Regions from separate parts of the Homo sapiens genome. Here region 2 is linked to region 1. Evidence: promoter capture Hi-C in 16 types of primary human blood cells and fetal thymus (Javierre and others, 2016). All regions are on one chromosome and are shown on one strand. Each heading gives the region's core, a stretch centred on a gene start or on the middle of the fragment in contact. The rest is flanking DNA. Distances are from core to core; before and after follow the strand shown. Region 1 holds the start of LAMB3 (laminin subunit beta 3). Region 2 overlaps HSD11B1 (hydroxysteroid 11-beta dehydrogenase 1).

Region 1 (3,041 bases), core at 542-3,041:
CTCAGATAAAGGGAGGAGGAGGAGGATTTAAGGGGCCCCAGCTACTCATGGTGAGGCCCACCGCACACCTGCCCTGCCTTTTCTCCTCTGAGGATCTGGGATTGCAACACCTGCTCTCTTCTGCTGAGTTAATTATTAATGAGTTCTTTGTCACATCCTCTGGTGATGGGCAGAGGGCGAAAGTTTCATGAGCGCTCTGAGTTCAGGGAGTTGGGGAAGTGGAGAGAAAGAGACCACCAGGTGGGAGAACTGAAAACACAGGTGTGTCAGAGTCAGAGCTGACCTTTCTCGGTGGGGGACTTGAGGGAGGTCTCTCTGTGTTGAAGGGACACTGCTTCTACTGACCTTACTTGCTGAGTTGAGCTAGATTTCACTGGAATGCTTACAGGGGGCAAGACTCTAACATTTATTGGACTATCAATTATGCATCAACTTACATCAACAACTCACTGCCCACTTGCTAATTACACTATTTCTTCTGCCTACCTGAACTTATGCTTAATTCGAATCTGAGGGTTAGAAATGCCCAATTTAATCCACAAAATTCTACATTTCCCCCTTAAGGGTCTTCAAGCCAATTTCTTGGACATAACCCTCCAATGGTGGAGAACTTTCTGTTTAGGAGACACTAACAAAGTGGAATCGTAGTTAAGAAGCTCCTTTAAATAGTAGCTTTGAGGTCCTAGCATTCCAAAACGGTGCCAGTGCAGGCTCTCCAGGGCCAAGATATGGACTGGCTGACCCTCCAGGTTTCCCTAAAAGCTCTCTGACCCTAACCTGGGGGAAAGAGTGTCCTGTGAGACCAGCCTCTCAATTTGGACCTGCCACTTCCATTTACAGTGGCTGGAAGCCCAGGATCCCTGAGCAAGGAGCCCACAAAAGAAGCTGTGTTCTCAGGCCTGGCAGGAGGCCAGGGAAAGTCTGTTTTGACTTTGTCAGTCAAGCTATGCTTCAGCCTTTCCTTCCACCACTTGTGGTCAGGTCTGTTTTCTGGCCCTCCAGGCGGGCATTCCTGCCTAGGGAGGGAGGGGCTAGGAGACTAACCCTCCCCACAGGTGGGAGGAGTGACTCACAGGCAGCTACCTGTCCCAGGGCTCCCTGCCAACCCTGTGGAGGGAGCTGGAGGCGAGCCATTTAGTTACTCTGCTCATTTCTCTTAAGCTTTCCTTGGATGAGTTGAGCTTTGAATCCTTCCTGATGAACCTTGCCTTTTAAGGATCCTCCAAATGCCCCAAGAAGCTGGGATTTTTCATTTTTTTTTTCACTGGGGAGGGGAATGGTGCTTTCCAGGGTCCTGGATGTTTGAGTCTTCTCACCTTCCAGCCCGGTGATATGTCTGGAGCTTTAACTCTCTATATAAGCCCTAATCTTTGTGTTCTCTGCCTGATCTTCTGTCTGGGGTGGTCCAGGTCACAAGAAGAAGCTGACCCCTGCTGGCTTTGGGAAAATGCTGAGTTCATTGCCTGGCACAAATGCAAGGGCCCTTCCCCACCCTGTGAATTCTGGTCTCTGATGATCACTTACATGTGCCTTGTGCTTTCTGTTTGAGGGGCCCCTTGCAGCCCCCACAGGCAGGTGGGCATTGTGGAGCTCACTACAAGAACTCTGGGACGGACCGACCAACCCACTTGCCCAGTCCCGTCCTGGGAGGTGGGGGTGCAGTGACGACAGATGGGTGTGACGGCTGCCAGATTCCTGAGACCCGCCCTGCGGTGGGGCTACACCCAGCCAGGGAGTCTCCAGAGGTGAGGCTGTTGTTTAAAAACCTGGAGCCGGGAGGGGAGACCCCCACATTCAAGAGGAGCTTTCAGGCGATCTGGAGAAAGAACGGCAGAACACACAGCAAGGTATGTTACCTGTCTTTACCTGCCTGGTGCGGGCCGGATGCGGGAGGAGGACTGTATCTCTGGATGCCTGGGGCCTGGTTTCAGGGCCTGATTTATTCCTCTTCCTGGGAGCTCACTCAGGTGAGCTAGGTTAAAATGTCTGCTACAGTTTTGATTTCTTTTTCACATTTGATAAGCACCTCAGTGGCTTAGAAGAAAGCAGGTTCAGATCCGGGGTTGAGCACAAAAGAGAAGTGAGAAGGGTGGGCTGGCCTGGCTCAGAATGCCTACTTGCAGGGGGATTTTCAGTCAGGGGTGGGAAAGCTGAGAAAGCACTGGATGAAAGTCAGAAGATGGGTCTCTCTTAGGCCATCGTTAGCTGTGGGACCCCAGGCCACATGTTCCCTCCCTGGGCCCATGACTCTTTTAGGAGAGGGATTGGAAGGAATGATTTTGAAGCATTAGGATCTATAATTTAAAGATGCCAGAAATGTCCTCAATTTCCCCCCCCGCCCCTGCCTTGCCAAGCCCCCAGCCCTCCACCCCAGCCAAAAGAGTTTGTGGCTGTCATTGGAACAGAGTGAACATCCAATTCAAGGCAGAAGGGTCACTGCATGAGCAAGGGTGGGGCATGTTTCCACAAGGCAGGCCTGCCTCTGGGACCCCACGGTGGCTTTCGAGCATCCTTCCCCAGCCTCCTTCAGAATCCCTGCTTTGTGGCCTCCCAGCCCCACCCCTCTTGTCGAGCCCCAGCCCATCATTGAAGACATTTTGGGTTGCTTCCCTTTCAGAAGAAACCCTCACTCACTTGTTAAAGACAGCCATACATCTCTCCCTGTTGCATCCCAGAATTGTGGGCACAGAGCCTCAAACTCAAAGTGGCCCTGAATGGTATTGGAGGCCATGCCCGTGACAGGAGAAGGTTTGCCTCCAGGCCGTCAGCCACTCTGACTCATTCACTTTGGGCGGGGCTGGGTTGAGGCTGCTGGTCTAGGCCCTGAGAAAAGCCAGCCCTCTCTCTTGGGGCTGGAACTAGGTCTTGGCCCTTTCTACAGCTTTTCTCCTGCAAAGGGTCCAGCCTTTTCCTGCTCCCCACGTTGTCCTTACGGCTGTGTGGGGTAGGGCAGGGTCCACACTCCTTCCCATCCATTTTAGAGGAGGAAGCTGGAGTCTGGGAAGGGATGGGATTTTCCCAGGGCACCCTGTGAGTCACAT
Region 2 (3,148 bases), core at 503-3,002, 76 kb before region 1:
GGTTTGTCATGTATGGCCTTTATGATGTTGAGGTATATCCCTTCTATACCCAATTTGTTGAGGGTTTTTATTATGAAGGGATATTGCATTTTACCAAATGCTTTTTCATCATCTACTGAAATGATTATATATTTTTGCCTTTGATTCTGTTGATGTGATGTATCACATTTATTGATTTGCTTATGTTGAACCATCCTTGCATCTTGAAGATGAATCCTACTTGATCATAATGAATGATCCTTTAAAATGTTGTTGAGCTCTGTTTGCTAGTATTTTGTTGAGGATTTTTGCATCTGTGTTCATCAGGGATATTGGCCTGTGGTTTTCTCTTTTTTGTTGTATCTTTAGTTTTGGTTTCAATGTTGGGACACATCCTTAAAAGGAGAAGCCAGTCTCTCCTTCCCAATCCTTTGTCCTTCTTGGTGTCTGAAGGTGGATGTAATGGCTATGGCTCCAGACCTATCTTGGACCATGAGGTAGAAGCCACGTGTTGAGGATGGCAAAACATTTAGATAGTTTAGATAGAAGGAAGGAACCTGGGTGACCATGGAGCTGCCATACTATACTGGCCCTATACTGCCTACCTTCAGACCTGATTTAAATTTTAACTTACTTGTGTGTGTGTGTGTGTGTGTGTGTGTGTGTTTTCCGAGGCAGAGTCTTGCTCTGTTGCCCAGGCTGGAGTGCAATGGCATGATCTCGGCTCACTGCAACTTTTGCCTCCCAAGTTCTAGTGATTCTTCTGCCTCAACCTCCCGAGTAGCTGGGATTACAGGTTTGAGCTACCAAACCTGGCTAATTTTTGTATTTTTAGTAGAAACAGGGTTTCACCATGTTGGCCAGGCTGGTCTTGAACTCCTGATCTCAAGTGATCCACCTGCCTCGGCCTCCCAAAGTATTGGGATTACAGGCATGAGCCACTATGCCTGGCCTAAATGCTAACTTATTGAATCCACTATTATTTTAGGTTTTCTGTATCTGAGAGCTGGACTTACTTCTTATTGATAGTTATCCTCACTTCTATGCAGCCCATGTGCCAAAAGAAAGCTGACATCATTCCTAACTGCAGGTATGAGCTTATGTAATCTATTTTATCCCATTCTTCTTACTCATGATTGATACAGGAATGGCCATGTGGCTCATTTTGGACCAATGAGATTTGAAGAAAATTTTGTTGGAGTGTCTCAAAAAGTTATTGTTTTTCTGGAAGAGTTTCTGAGAGTAGCAATCCTCTTTTTCTTCCAACACATTTTTTGTGCATTGATATGGGGGCTGGAATTGCTGCAGCTATCTCATTGTCAGCCTGAGGATGAAGCCACACATGGAAGAGAGCAGAGCCAAGAGAATCACGGGGACACTGAGCTTCAGCCAAGTCAACTGTGAAGCCTGCCCTACATCTGGACTTCCAGTTATGTCAATAATTTTCCTTATTGTTTGAGACAAAAATAGATCCACATTACTTATCAGAATAGCATAATAATTAAAAGTATGAGCTCTAGAGTCAGATGACCCAGGTGTGAATCCCAAGTATGCCAATTCTTAGCTGTAATATGTGGATAATAATATAACCAAGCTGAAGTAACCCATGTAATATACTTAGCACAAACTCTGGCACATAGAAAGCATTCAGAAAATGCTATTATTGTTAGCAGTATTAGTATTCAAATTGGTGAGAAAAGTATGAGCTATTCAAAAAATCATGTTGGGACAAATAGCTAGTTACTTGGAGAAAAAAGTGCCATTCTAATAAACAAATTCAAATTAGATCACAGAGTATATGTGGAAAGTAAAAAACTAAAATAAGCTATTGGTGAATTTCTAATCTCAAAGTTAGAGATACTTTTTAAAGCATGAAATTGGAGGCATATACTATGAAGGAAGACATAAATAGGTTGGAATATATAAAATGTGAAAAGCTACAGTGTACTAGAAATGCTTGCCATGGACTTCCTGCCCTCATCCCCTTCAAAGAGCCTTTATCTTTCTAGCCATGGAAGGTTGGCCCAGTTATCACGAATATGCACACTGGCTTGAACACACATCGTGGTCTCTCTTTCAATAAATTGAAATAAGTGACCAAAAGATTCTGATTGCTGCTGTTGGATTTTGAATGAAAAGGTCATGTAAGGTTGGGACTGGGGTAGCCATTTCAGCCATGGAGAGGGATAAGTAAGCGGAGACAAGTATTCTGCAAAAATAAGCAAGCATATGGAGCAAACACAATAACCTCTGAAATTGAGCTAAATAGGAACTAACATTTATTTAGCTCTTATGTGCCAGTGTAGAATCTAAAGGATAAATGCTCAAAGTTTCAAGGTTAATGAGTGGGAGAAGCAGGATTCAAACCAGGATTCAAATTTGACTCTAGTGGCCCACACTCTTGAACACTAGGTGGTACTTCCTCTACAGAAGGCACTGTTCTTTATATGAGTGTTTTCCAGGAGCCATGTGTTAAATCCAGTTCTTTCTGCATTGGTGAGGATTCTCTCTCTTTTGATAGTCGAGTCCAAAATAGGCAAAATTTATGAATAGCAGTATTATTTTCACTTCTAAGCTGACAGATGAGGATACCCATAAATAAACAGGGCTAGTCACTCCTAGTCCCTTTGTATTCATTTCCCTGGGCTGCCATAACAAATTACCACAAACTTGGTAGCGTAAGACTACAGAAATGTGTTCTCTTACAGAACTGGAATCCAGAAGTCCAAAACCAAGTTATCAGCACAGCCATGCTCCCCCCAAAACCTATAGCAGGGAATCCTTCTTTTTTCTCTTCTAGCTTCTAATGTCTGCTGGCAGTTGGAGCTGAGTTGTGCTGGCAACTCCAGTCTCTGCCTCCATCTTCACATCACTTTCTTCTCTTCTGTCTGTGTCTTTTACTCTTCATATAAGGTTACTTGTCATTGGATTCAGGGCCTCTCAGATAATCGGGAATGATTTCATCTTGAGATCTTAGTTACATCCTCAAGGACTTTCTATGTGTCCACTTAAGGTCACGTTCACAGGATCTAGGTGGATATATCTTTTGGGGGAGGACCACCATTCAGCCCACTACACACCCCTAGATGACAATAAAGATATTGACTATGACATTTAATGTGTTTGTCTAGGTGGCAACAGAGATACAGAAGCAAGATATCCTGCGAAG

The links. Contacts are between HindIII fragments. The CHiCAGO score rates a contact against its expected background, and 5 or more counts as called.
Region 2: a fragment that was not itself captured here is called in contact with the fragment with the promoter of LAMB3 in region 1 in 4 of 17 cell types (monocytes, neutrophils, M1 macrophages and 1 more); the score reaches 14.7 in monocytes.

Annotation. Positions count from the first base shown.
Region 1 is chr1:209,651,175-209,654,215 of GRCh38, reverse strand. It overlaps LAMB3 (laminin subunit beta 3), which reads left to right and starts at 1,791. Exons shown (of 23, transcript NM_000228.3): 1 at 1,791-1,847. RefSeq lists an enhancer at 1,090-2,289. The HindIII fragment of the contact is 2,819 bases long and covers 1,164-3,041 here.
Region 2 is chr1:209,726,861-209,730,008 of GRCh38, reverse strand. The region is part of intron 4 of HSD11B1 (hydroxysteroid 11-beta dehydrogenase 1); the gene reads right to left. The region is part of intron 1 of HSD11B1-AS1 (HSD11B1 antisense RNA 1); the gene reads left to right. Among named protein-coding and RNA genes, the nearest start is that of HSD11B1-AS1, 14 kb to the left of the region's middle. The HindIII fragment of the contact is 5,210 bases long and covers 1-3,148 here.